Regions from separate parts of the Homo sapiens genome. Here region 1 is linked to region 2. The links are contacts of gene promoters, found by promoter capture Hi-C in blood cells and fetal thymus (Javierre and others, 2016). All regions are on one chromosome and are shown on one strand. The core of a region is centred on a gene start or on the middle of the fragment in contact, and the rest is flanking DNA. Distances in the headings are between cores, read along the strand shown.

Region 1 (6,331 bases), core at 259-2,758, 420 kb before region 2:
AGAGCATTATATTTTAAAATATTTCGAAAGGAGCATTTTTAAACCAGGAGATTTCACCTGTAAAGAAATTGGATTTCTGGCTTCTTCTGAAAATGGGAAGAGCTGGGATGCCCACAGTGGCAGAGGTGAGTTGCCCTTGCCATTTGTATAAGAAGTGTGCTCTCCTGTTCACTACAGTCCCTGCCATTCTCCACTGAATTACGCCCCCCTTCTTAATTCATTTACTTTACCTCTCTGACCCTGTGGGCATTTGAGATTTCAGTTTGTGTAAATCCAGCAGGGCAGGTTCTCAACTGGCTTCAGAGAGCCACTCCCTGTGCAGATCTCTTTTTGGAGAAAAGAGATCCCTGCAAAAAGATTAAACTCCAGGAGTGGGGGAGAGTGCTGGTGACTGAGCCGGCCTCTTCTGCCACATGGTAGGGTTGGTGGGGCAGGGGGTGAGAATCAAAGAATGGAATCTGAAAAGATGAAGGCTGGGAGGGGTCAGTGTGGCGTCTGTAATATGTACCCACTTGCAAGCTTCTAATATCATTCAGGATGTGGATATGGCTTTGGAGAGGGAGTAGGAAGACCTTTTTAGTTATATCCCAGAATTCCAGACTGAGGGCCTTTTATTGATATTGGAATCTTCAAGGACGTAGTTCTAGGATAAGTTTTACTTCATGGGGAAAGGGGAATATGCTTGGGACAGGCCACTAAAGGAAGGGTGAAAAGGGATCTTATGGGACTTTGGAGCATATCTCTTGGCTTTGTGCTTGATGTCATGGAAGATGGTCAGGCCCTGCCACAGCCTGCCCCTCTGGTTCCTCATCACAGACCAAAGCCTTGAGTTGGAGGGACTCAATTCTGAGGTCTTTGGGCTTAGAAAGACCTGGTAAGGTGAACAATAAAAGATTGCTAACACTGCTGAGTAATGATTGTCTGCCAGTACTTGTGCTGGCACTTTTGCATAGGTTTACCTCTGAACCATGCTTCAAGGTGGCCCTCACCTCCATCTTATAGATAAGGCACCGAGGTGCGGGTGCAGCACAAGGTCACCAGCAAGCAAAGACAAGCATACATTCTCTCTTCACTACATAATTCTGCTTAGTGCAGTGAGACTCTTTTTTTTTTTTTTTTTTTTCTGAGACGGAGTTGGCCGGGTGCAGTGGCTCACACCTGTAATCCCAGCACTTTGGGAGGCCGAGATGGGCGGATCACTTGAGGTGAGGAGTTTGAGACCAGCCTGACCAACATGGTGAAACCCTGTCTCTATTAAAAATATAAAAATGAGCCGGGTGTGGTGGCACGGGCCTGTAATCCCAGCTCCTCAGGAGGCTGAGGCAGGAGAATTGCTTGAACTCGGGAGGTGGAGGTTTTAGTGAGCCGAAATCATGCGACTGCACTCCAGCCTGGGTGACAGAGCGAGACTCCATCAAAAAAAAAAAAAAAAAGAGAGACGGAGTTGCGCTCTTCTTGCCCAGGCTGGAGGGCAGTAGCGTGATCTTGGCTCACCACAGGTCAGCGGGTAGGTGTCTGCCACAACATCTGGCTATTTTTTGTATTTTTTTTTTTTTTTGAGATGGAGTCTCGCTCTGTCGCCCAAGCCGGAATGCAGTGGCACAATCTCGGCTCACTGCAACCTTTGCCTCCTGGGTTCAAGCAGTTCTCTGCCTCAGGCTCCCGAGTAGCTGGGATTACAGGTGCCCACCACCACACCTGGCTAATTTTTGTATTTTTAGTAGAGATGGGGTTTCACCATGTTGGCCAGGCTGGTCTTGAACTCCTGACCTCGTGATCCACCTGCTTTGGCCTCCCGAAGTGCTGGGATTACAGGCATGAGCCACCACGCCTGGCCAATTTTTTGTATTTTTACTAGAGACGGGGTTTCATCATGTTTTCCAGGCTCGTCTTGAACTTGACCTCAGGTGATCCACCTGCCTTGGCCTCCCAAAGTGCAGGGATTACAGACGTCAGCCACTGCGCCCAGCCTGCAGTGAGACTCTTGAAGTCTTGTTAATTTCCATGCAGCACGGCCGGCTGCCGTGGCTCCTGCCTGTAATCTCAGCACTTTGGGAGGCCGAGGCGAGTGGATCACCTGAGGTCAGGAGTTCGAGACCAGCCTGACCAACATGGAGAAACCTGTCTCTACTAAAAATACAAAATTAGCTGAGGGTGGTGGCACATGCCTGTAATCCCAGCTACTCTGGAGGCCAAGGCAGAAGAATCACTTGAACCCGGGAGGCGGAGGTTGTGGTGAGCCAAGATCGCACCATTGCACTCCAGCCTGGGCAACAAGGGTGAAACTGTCTCAAAAAAACAAAATATTTCTGTGCAGCCAGAATAGGACTAAGTGGGCTTTGGAAGAGTTTTGGCTGATAACAAATCAGCATGCTGGTTTGTAATTGAAAGAACATTGGACTCAGAGTCAGAGGCAATGGGTTTGAATTGTGGCTTCTGCCACTTACTAAGCATGTAGGGATAACAACACCTACCTCCCAAGAGTCATGAAAGCTTGAGCTGATGCATGTGAAGGTGCTTTTAAGCTGTAGGTATAAAGAGTTATGGTCATCATCATCCTCTTTCAAATGAAAGGAACGGTTTCACATCCATCAGCAACAGGATATGAATTGGGTTTAGGGAGGGGATTGCAGGAAATAGTCCATCACACCCTTGCACAGGTCTCCAGGCTACTACTACTGAAAGTCAGCAAAATGTCCTGGTTGGAGTTCCGCTTTCTTTCCCTTCCCATCCTCCAGTGGAATCAGTACCCCAAAGGCAAAACACACATAGAACAGAAGAAAGTGAGGCAAAAGGCCTAAATATTTCAGCAGAGTGACAGTTGCCCTGGCAAAGATGCATTTTGCATTTTCTCAACAGCTTATCTGAGATTCCAAACTGGTATTCCCCTGTGGGACTTATGCCTCCTCTTTCTTGGCATCCCACCCCACAGGCCCAGATGTTTGGCTTTAATAATTTTAGCACAAAGCTATCCTGCGAAGGAGTGATCTTGGCTGAGCCTCAATCCATAACTCCTTCCAGCTGGCCAGGCCTCCTGAGGGAGTTCCCTGTGTGTGCCAGGGCTGTGTCTTCATCTTCCTCTGATGGCACACTCAGACACCACAGACACGTTGTCAGTCATCCCCAGTTCTCCCTAAGGCCACATTCTCCAGTCTCTCTGTGGCATTTGGCAGTGCTGACCACTCTCCTTGGTTTTAATGACTCAGTTCTTAGCCTTCCGCTCTTCCTTTGTAAACTCTTTTTTTAGGCCAGGCACCGTGACTCATGCCTGTAATCCCAGCACTTTGGGAGGCTGAGGTGGGAGGAGCACTTGAGCCCAGGAGTTTGAGACTAGCCTGGGCAACATGGCAAAACCCCATCTCTACCAAAAATACAAAAATTAGCTGAGTGTGGTGGTACATGCCTGTGGTCCCAGCTTCTCAGGAGGCTGAGGCAGGAGAATTGCTTGAACCCGGGAGGCAGAGGTTGCAGTGAGCAGAGATCGCGCCATTGCACTCCAGCCTGGGCAATAAGAGCGAAACTCTGTCTCAAAATAATAATAATAATAATAATAATAATAATAATAATAATAATATAATAATAATAAACAACTCTCTTTTTACGATATTAGATCTCCCAGAAGCAGGGAGGCTTATAAAGTTTTCTCCCTGAGAAATCTAGTTTTGCATCTAGCCAGGTGACCTCAAACACATTACTATTATTTGCTGAGCCGTAATTTCTTGAAATTGTCTGTGAAATTTCAATAAAACAATCCACCAGAGTGCTCTGCAAACCTGGCTGATCATTAGAATTACCTGAGAACTTAAATTTAGATTCCTGGGCTTTACCCATAACCCACTTAATCTAAGGGATTGAGATCCCTAGACCTACCTCTCGTGAAATGACTGTGCAGTTTAAATGAGATTATGTATACAAAGCAGACATCACAGTGCCTGCTGTGTGCATGTTCAGTAAATGGTAGCTGTTAGAAGTATCAACTTCTTTAATTAATTCATTCACCAAATAGTTACTGAATGTTTATGTCCAAGGCCCCTGGAGTAGGTGCCTTCTCCATAGGAATAAGGCAGATGTGGGCTCTGCCTCCATGGGAGTGGCATTCTAGTAGGAGAGACAGAGATTAAGCAGCTAATTACACCATTAATTGTTAATTACACTTATGACAAGTGCTCTGAAGGCAAGTACAAGTTGCTGTGGGGCATACAACTAAGGCCCTGACCTATGCCAATGAGTCCCAAACCCCTATTTCCAATTTCCACCTCCAAACACATATCTAACTGCCTGTTGGATATCTCCTCGTGAATGCTTGCTGGTCTTCAAATACCATAGATCTGAAAGTGAACTTATTATCTCCCTCTTCTCCTCCCCCCTCCCCTTGCTTCTTGATCTTCACTTTGTCCCACTCGTTCCTCTGCTTACACAGTTCCTTCTTCCTGGAATTTCACCCCCAGCCCTACTTCAACTGTTGAGATCCTTAAGGCTCAAATGCCGCCCCTCCTTGAAGCCTTCCTTGGTATCTCCAGTGGAAGGTGATCCATCCTTCCCTTGAACTCTCCTCCTCAAACCCATAGCCTTTGCAGCACTCACATGGCTCATAATGAACATAGTCTTCTACTGTAATTATTTGTATGCTTGTCTGAGTTGAAATGGGAGCTGTGTGCAGTAGTGCACACCTATAGGCCCAGCTACTTGGGCTGAGGCAGGAAGATCTCTTGAGCCCAGGAGTTCGAGGCTGTAGTGTACTATGATTGCACCTGTGAATAACCGCTGCACTCCAGCCTGGGCAACATAGTGAGACTCCATTTCTAAATATTAAAATAAATAAATAAATAGATGAATAGAACTGGAAGCTCCTTGAGCACAACTCATCTTCTACATCTATATATATCTCTCAGCACCTATCACAGTATTAAACACATGTGAGGTGAAAAAAGGGGTTGAAAATGCTTTCTCATATAACCACTTGGGAAAAGTCTTTGGCATGACACCAAGAGTGAGATTCATAAAAAAAAAAATGCTTTTAACTTCATCAAAATTAAAATCTTTTGCTCTGCAAAAGATCCTGTTAAGAAGATGAAGGCAGTCAGGCACCATGGCTCACGCCTGTAATCCCAGCACTTTGGGAGGCTGAGGCAGGCAGATCACGAGGTCAGGAGATCGAGACCATCCTGGCTAACACGGTGAAACTCCGTCTGTACTAAAAATACAAAAATTAGCCAGACGTGGTGGCGGGCGCCTGTAATCCCAGCCACTCGGGAGGCTGAGGCAGGAGAATGGCATGAACCCAGGAGGCAGAGCTTGCAGTGAGCCAAGATCGCGCCACTGCACTCCAGCCTGGGCAACAGAGCGAGACTGTGTCTCAAAAAAAAAAAAAAAAAAAGGAAGATGAAGGCTGGGCATGGTGGCTCAGCACTTTGGGAGGCCAAGGCAGGCAGATCACGAGGTCAGAAGTTCGAGACAAGCCTAGCCATCTCTACTAAAAAATTAGCTGAGCATGGTGGCACGTGCCTGTAGTCCCAGCTATTCGGGAGGCTGAGGCAGGAGAATTGCTTGAACCCGGCAGGCAGAGGTTGCAGTGAGCCGAGACTGTGCCATTGCACTCCAGCCTGGGCAACAGGCGACAGAGTGAGACTCCATCTCAAAAAAAAAAAAGAAGAAGATGAAAAGACAAGCCAAAAATATTTACAAATGACAACAAATGTATCCAGAATGTGTATCCAGAATTTGTAAAGAACTTTCTAGCCAGGCGTGGTGGCTCACGCCTGTAATCCCAGCACCTTGGGAGGCCAAGGTGGGTGGATCACTTGAGGTCAGGAGTTCAAGACCAGCCTGGCCAGCATGGTGAAACCCCGTCTCTACTAAAAATACAAAAAAATTAGCAGGGCCTGGTGGCATGCTCCTGTAATCCCAGCTACTAGGGAGGCTGAGGCATGAGAATCGCTTGAACCCAGGAGGCGGAGGTTGCAGTGAGCCGAGATCACGCCACTGCACTTCAGCCTGAGTGACAGAGCGAGATTCCATCTCAAAAAAAAAAAAAAAAAAAAAGAACTGTCTAAACATAACAGAAAGGAAATGAACATTCCAATTAGAAAATGGGCAAATGACTTGAATAGGCATTTTACCAGAGGGAATATACAAATGGCAAATAAGTAGATGAAAATATGTTCAACATAACTAGCCATCAGGAAATCAAATTCAAAGCACAATTATGTGACACTACATACCTACTAGAGTGGCTTAAACACAAAATACTGACAATACTAAGTGCTTACAAGGATGGAGAACAGCTGGATCTCTAATTTATTCCCGCCAGAAAAGCTGGTGGGGATGTAAA
Region 2 (6,878 bases), core at 1,647-4,146:
TAATCTGAGACTTAAAAGTTAGGGTTTAGAATTCATCTTTGTGTGTAATTCTAGAGAAAAATGGCATGATCCATTTTTCTGTTTTAGAAATGTGGTAAGCAGGTGGACTAGAGTGGGGAATGAGGCAGAGAGATTGGTTAGGATGACACAGCAGTACTCTAAGCAAGGAATGAGGATGGCCTGAAACACAGAAGTAGCCAAGAAAAAAAGAAACAAAGGATTTGTGAGACATTTAGAAAACAGACTCAATGGGAGTTGTGGTTGCCTTGAAGGCAGGGGCTGTTGTAATGTAAAGCCAAGGCTTTTCCTTGATATATTCATTGGCATTCTGCATCACTTTCCTACATAAACAGACCAGACACATAACATACCATCTGAGATTTCTAGTTTTGCTTTCTTTAAAATGGAAGAACATCTTGAATACACCTGTAAAACAATCTTCACTACAGAATCTTTTTAGATTTCTATAAATTTTTCTCCTAGGCTTTTACCATTAACTTGTTCATAATTAACTCAATAACAATTTGTCTTAGCTACTCATCTTCAACAAGTGTTTCTGATTTTCAACTTAGTTTTCATAGCAATAGCAACCCTCTTTTTTGGTACTCATATTTCATTTTTCGTATTATTTCATTAAATTACGTAGTTGCAACTGTAAGCATAAGTGCCATACACACATTTAAAAAATTGTTTTCATTCTTTTTTTTTTTCCTTTTTTTACAGAGACAAGATATCACTATGTGGCCCAGGCTGGTCTCGAACCCCTGGGCTTAAGCAATCCTGCCTCGGCCTCCCAAAGTGTTAGGATTACAGGCATGAGCCACTGCGCCCAGCCCACAGACACATGATGTTTAGAAAAAAACACAATGGACCCTCACTAAGCACACAACTCAAATGGAGGAGGAGAAGCGCAGGCATGCAAGAGACAAGCCTATGAGTCATAACCACTCATTATGCTGTGGGCAAATGTCAGTGTGTTTCTCCTCACAGGCTCTCTCCCCAGAGACCCCTTCCCTGATCATCTGTTTAAGATTAACCCTTTCGACCGGGTGTGGTGGCTCATGCCTGTAATCCCAGCACTTTAGGGGGCCAAAGCGGGAAGGATCACTTGAGGTCAGGAGTTTGAGACCAGCCTGGCCAACATGGTGAAACCCCATCTCTACTAAAAACACAAAAATTAGCTGGGTGTGGTGGCAGGCGCCTATAATCCCAGCTACTCAGGAGGCTGAGGCAGGAGAATCGCTTGAACCCAGGAGGCAGAGGTTGCAGTGAGCCCGAGATCGGGCCACTGCACTTTAGCCTGGGTGACAGAGCTAGTGGGACTCCTCCTCTGTCTCAAAACAAACAAACAAACAAAGATTAACCCTTTCATCACTCTCTATTCCCAGATTAATTTTGCTTCACAGGATTTACCACCACCTGATTTTTTTCTGTTTCACTTGTTTATCGTCTGTCTCTTCACTAAAATGTAAACTTCCCAAGTAGAGGGATTTAGTTTTGTTTATTCCGTGTACCTAGAGCAGTTCCTGGCACATAGCAGACACCCAATAAGTATTTGTTAAATGAATACTGTGGAATGAGTTTTTTACACATGAAATTCTCAGCTAATCAAACAAAATAGCTATGTGGAGACTGCTCAAGAAGCAATGCTGCCAGGAGCGGTGGCTCACGCCTGTAATCCCAGCACTTTGGAAGGCTGATGCAGGCAGATCATGAGGTCAAGAGTTCGAGACCAGCCTGGCCAACATGGTGAAACCTCATCTCTACTAAGAATACAAAAATAGCCAGGTGTGGTGGTGCGTGCCTGTAATCCCAGCTACTCAGGAGGCTGAGGCGGGAGAATCACTTGAACCCAGGAGGCGGAAGTTGCAGTGAGCCAAGATCACACCACTACACTCCAGCCTGGCGACAGAGCTAGACTCCGTCTCAAAAAAAAAAAAAAAAAAGGAAAAGTACTTCCTTCAATTAGTCATTCTAAAGACTTCATGAATTAAACTCCATAAAAGACAACAGTGTCTAGCATATATAAAATGCTAAATAAATGTACGTTTATTATGATGAATATGTTGAATATTTACAGGTGGTTAACTATAAACACCTCTAGTTGAAAATATATATAATATATATTACATATATTATATATAATATATATGTATATTATATATGTAATATATACATACACATTATATATAATATATACGTATATATATTATATAATACGTAATATATAATACTTATATATATAATTCGCCTCCCAGGTTCAAGCAATTCTCCTGCCTCAGCCTCCCAAGTAACTGGGATTACAGGCATGTGCCACCACGCTCGGCTATATATTTTTTTAATTATTATTTTTTAGTAGAGACGGGGGTTTCTCCATGATTGTCAGGCTAGTTTCGAACTCCCGACCTCAGGTGATCCGCCCGCCTCGGCCTCCCAAAGAGCTGTTTTAAAGCACAGGTTCCCATGGCATCGCTTCTTCCCCCAACCCTCACACACTGTCCCTAACCAAAGAGACTGCACACCCCAGAATGCAACACGCGCCTCCGCGAAGAAGACCTACTCATAGCAAGTACTTCACAGCCTACAATTCCCAAGATGCAACGCGACCTCCTTCCCACAGCAACGAAAGACTGCGACTCCCCGGACTATCAGGCCGGGAGAGTCCACTTCCAGCTCACCTCGGAGCTCCGGGAGCCTTTCAGCACCTGCTTGGTGAGCGCGATTACGTCAGTACCACAGGTGGTCACCTTCTCCGTGAGAAGCCCCTTCACGGACTGACCGAACCGCGCTTGAGACTCTGGCGTTCCAGTCGCCATCATTTCAGTTAGCGAACGGTTGCGCACTGACGATGGTGAGTCGCCGGGGCCAAAAGACAAGCAAAGCGGAAGGAAAAGAGGCGTCTCTTCCTCCATGGGAAAAGGAAGGGACGCATGCGCCTGATGGAGGTTGACCTTTGCTCACTAAACTCATGAACTATTCATTGATATCCTGAGGAAAACAGGGTCCAGGCAAACATCTCTGGAGGGGATGGAGGACAGTTTCATTGACTCTATGGTTCAGAATCGGAAAGCCTGCGGCAGGGCATGGCGGCGCACGCCTGAAATCCCAGCCCTTTGGGAGACCCAGGCAGGAGGATCACCTGAGCCTGAGAGTTCCAGACCACCCTGGGCAACATAGCGAAACTCCATCTCTTTAAAAATAAAATAAAATTAAAATTAATACAAATAATTAAAAAGAATCAGAAGGCCCGGATTACAGTCCCAATGCTACCATTTAGCAGTGTGTGGCTGCAAATTACTCAGCTTCTGTCTTATATTCCTCATCTGTTAAACAGAAGTAATAATGTTTCCAAGGGGTTATGAGAATATCATTCCATTCATATATATATACACATATATATATATACACATATATATACACATATATACACATATATACATATATATACATATATATACACATATATATATACATATATATTTTTTTTTCCCCAGAGTCTTGTTCTGTTGCCTAGGCCTTTTTTTGATTAATTGAGACAAGGGGCCAGGCGTGGTGGCTCACGCCTGTAATCCCAACACTTTGAAAGGCCAAGGTGGATCACTTGAGGTCAGGAGTTCAAGGCCAACCTATCCATATGGTGACACACCTGTAGTCCCAGCACTTTGGGAGGCCGAGGCAGAAGGGTCACTCAAGGCCAGGAGTTCAGTATCAGCAGCCTGGGCAACATAGCGATAACTTGTCTCATTTTATTTAATTTTATTTTATTTTATTTTTTTTTTGAGATGGAGTCTCGCTTTGTTGCCCAGGCTGGAGTGCAGTGGCTCGATCTCAGCTCACTGCAACATCCGCCTCCTGAGTTCAAGTGATTCTCCTGCCTCAGCCTCCCAAGTAGCTGGGATTACAGGTGCTTGCCACCAGGCCCGGCTAATTTTTGTATTTTTAGTAGAGATAGGGTTTCACCATGTTGGCCAGGCTGGTCTCAAATTCCTGACATCTAATGATCCACCAGCCTTGGCCTTCCAAAATGGTGGGATTACAGGCGTGAGCCACTGCACCTGGCCTCATTCCATTCAATTTTAACAAACATTTCATGAACTAAATACCAGACACTGTACTAGGCTGGGGATAGAGAAAGAAATGAAATACAGTTCTTGTCTCTGTGGAACTCCCAGGCTGATGAGGCAGATAGGCCTGTAAACAAATGAAGAAGGAAAAACAATCTAATAGAAAAATTGGCAAAAGGCACAAGTAGGCAATTCAAAAAAAAAAATCAACTGGCTGATAAATGTGAAAAATGCTCAACATCACTAGTAATTTTTATTGATAACCTCTTTATTGTATTAATACCAAACTGATGGTAACCACCTTGTAAGTGAATTAATATGTAAAATATTTCAAGTAGGCCAGGTGCCGTGGCTCACGCCTGTAATCCCAGCACTTTGGGAAGTTGAGGCGGGAGGATCACCTGAGGTCAGGAGTTCGAGACCAGCCTGCCCAACATGGTGGAACCCCGTCTCTACTAAAAATACAAAAATTAGCCGGGCGTGGTGGTGGGCACCTGTAGTCCCAGCTACTCTGGAGGCTGAGGCAGGAGAATTTCTTGAACCCGGGAGGCAGAGGTTGCAGTGAGCCGAGATCATGCCACTGTATTCCAGCCTAGGCGACAGAGTGAGACTCTGTCTCAAAAAAAAAATAAAATATTTCAAGTAGCTCCATTTCTTTTTTAGTTAATAAAAGATGTGAGAATGTTATTGTATTGAAAATTTTGTTCAAAATTACCTGTATTCAATATCAACATTACTTCCTCTTCCAAGTGTCTAGATTCATATGTCTCCGTTGAATCTCATTTACTGTTTACTTTTTGTCCTTAATAAACTTTATTGAGTTTATGTGCATGAATTTATGTTATAATTTATGTACAATAACAACATTATTTTTTGAGATGGAGTCTTGCTTTGTCACCCAGGCTGGAGTGCAGTGGCACGATCTTGGCTCACTGCAACCTTTGCCTCCCTGGTTCAAGCGATTCTCCTGCCTCAGCCTCCCGAGTAGCTGGGATTACAGGTGCCCACTATCACGCCTGGCTAATTTTTGTATTTTTAGTAGAGATGGGTTTCACCATGTTGGCTAGGCTGGTCTTGAACTCCTGACCTCAGGTGATCCACCTGCCTTGGCCTCCCAAAGTGCTGGGATTACAGGCGTTGAGCCACCACGCCCGGCCTGCACAATAACCACATTCTTTAAAGTGTACGATTTGATGAGTGTGACAGACGTATACATCTGTGAACCACCACCACTATTAAGATACAGAACAGGGTGGGAGCAGTAGCTCATGCCTGTATTCCCAGCACTTTGGGAGGCCGAGGCAGAAAGATTGCTTGAGGCCAGGAGTTCAATATCAGCAGCCTGGGCAACATAGCGATAACTTGTCTCATTTTATTTATTTATTTTTATTATTTATTTACTTTATTTTGAGACGGAGTCTTGCCCTGTCACCCAGGCTGGAGTACACGGGTGTGATCTTGGCTCACTGCAACCTCCGCCTCCCGGGTTCAAGCGATTCTCCTGCCTCAGCCTCCCAAGTAGCTGGGACTACAGGTACGCACCATCGCGCCCGGCTAATTTTTGTATTTTTAGTAGAGGTGGGGTTTCACCATGTTGGCCAGGCTGGTCTTGAACTCCTGACCTCATGATCGGCCCACCTTGGCCTCCCAAAGTGCTGGGATTACAGACATGAGCCACCACGCCCGGCCCCTTGTCTCAATTAAAAAAAAAAAAAAAAAGATGCAAAACATTTCATCACCCTCAGAAGTTTCCAAGTGCCCTTTAAAGTCCATCTCTCCTTCTCTGTCTCACCCGGGCAACCACTGCCCTGCTTTTGGGAACTATAGATTAATTTGCATTTCTAGAATGGCAAATAAATAGCATCATACAGGCTTTTTTGAGGGGAGGGGGGTCTTTTTTTGTCTGGCTTCATTCTTGCAGCATGATGATTTGACATGTTGTTGTGCATATAACTAGCCTGTTCATTTTTATTGCTGAGAAATATTCCACTGCATGGATAGTTCTCACTGTGTTTATTCACTCTCTTGTTGATGGACACTTGGGTTGTTTCCACTTTTGGGTTTTTGTTTTGTTTTGTTGTTTTTTGGTTTTGGTTTTTGTCGTTGTTTTTGAGACAGAGTCACTCCTCTGTCATCCAGGCTGGAGTGTATGGCATAACCACAGCTCAAGCTCCCAGGCTCAAGCAATCCTCCCACCTCAACCTCCGGAATAGCTGGAACTACAGGTTCATGCCACCATGCCTGGCTAATTTTTACAATTTTTTCTGTAAAGACAGGGTCTCCCTATGTTGCCTGGGCTCAAGTGATTTTCCTGCCTTGCCCTCCCAAAGTTCTGGGATTACAGGCATAAGCCCATCACACCTGGCCTCCACTTTTGGAATATTATGAATATTCTGCTATGAACATTTGTACACAAGTCTTTATGTGGGTTGTTTTCATTTCTCTTGGGTAACTATCTAGTAGTGGAATGGCTGGATCATATGGTAAGTGTTTCAGTTTTCAAGAAACTGCCAAACCATTTTCCAAAGTGGTTTAACACTTTACATTTCCGATAGCAGTGTATGCCACTCCAGTTGCTCCACATCCACAAACTTAGGAAAAGATGGAATGTTCTATAGCCATGGTAACACGTAGCTACCTGTGGTGGACAGACTGGCCGCTCAGGGTAGCCTTTGACCCCACCTCCTGGTGTTCTTGCTCTTGTGTGATCCTCTTCTCTTCCTTGTGGACATGATCTTTGATTTGCTTCTAATCGATAGTGTATGCACAGGTGATAGGAAACACATGATGATGTTACATAAGATTACATGTTAC

The links. The method cuts DNA at HindIII sites, captures the fragments that hold promoters and counts their contacts. A CHiCAGO score of 5 or more calls a contact.
Region 1: a fragment that was not itself captured here is called in contact with the fragment with the promoter of BORCS7-ASMT in region 2 in 1 of 17 cell types (erythroblasts); the score reaches 6.4 in erythroblasts.

What each region holds. Positions count from the first base shown.
Region 1 is chr10:103,270,010-103,276,340 of GRCh38, reverse strand. No RefSeq gene overlaps it. Among named protein-coding and RNA genes, the nearest start is that of INA, 4.0 kb to the left of the region's middle. The HindIII fragment of the contact is 1,974 bases long and covers 522-2,495 here.
Region 2 is chr10:102,850,228-102,857,105 of GRCh38, reverse strand. It overlaps BORCS7-ASMT (BORCS7-ASMT readthrough (NMD candidate)), which reads right to left and starts at 2,896. Exons shown (of 15, transcript NR_037644.1): 1 at 2,679-2,896. BORCS7 (BLOC-1 related complex subunit 7) reads right to left here and starts at 2,847. Exons shown (of 5, transcript NM_001136200.2): 1 at 2,679-2,847. The coding sequence starts at 2,819. RefSeq lists enhancers at 532-1,504, 2,512-2,701, 2,301-2,813, 2,772-2,831, 2,814-3,327. The HindIII fragment of the contact is 18,616 bases long and covers 1-6,878 here.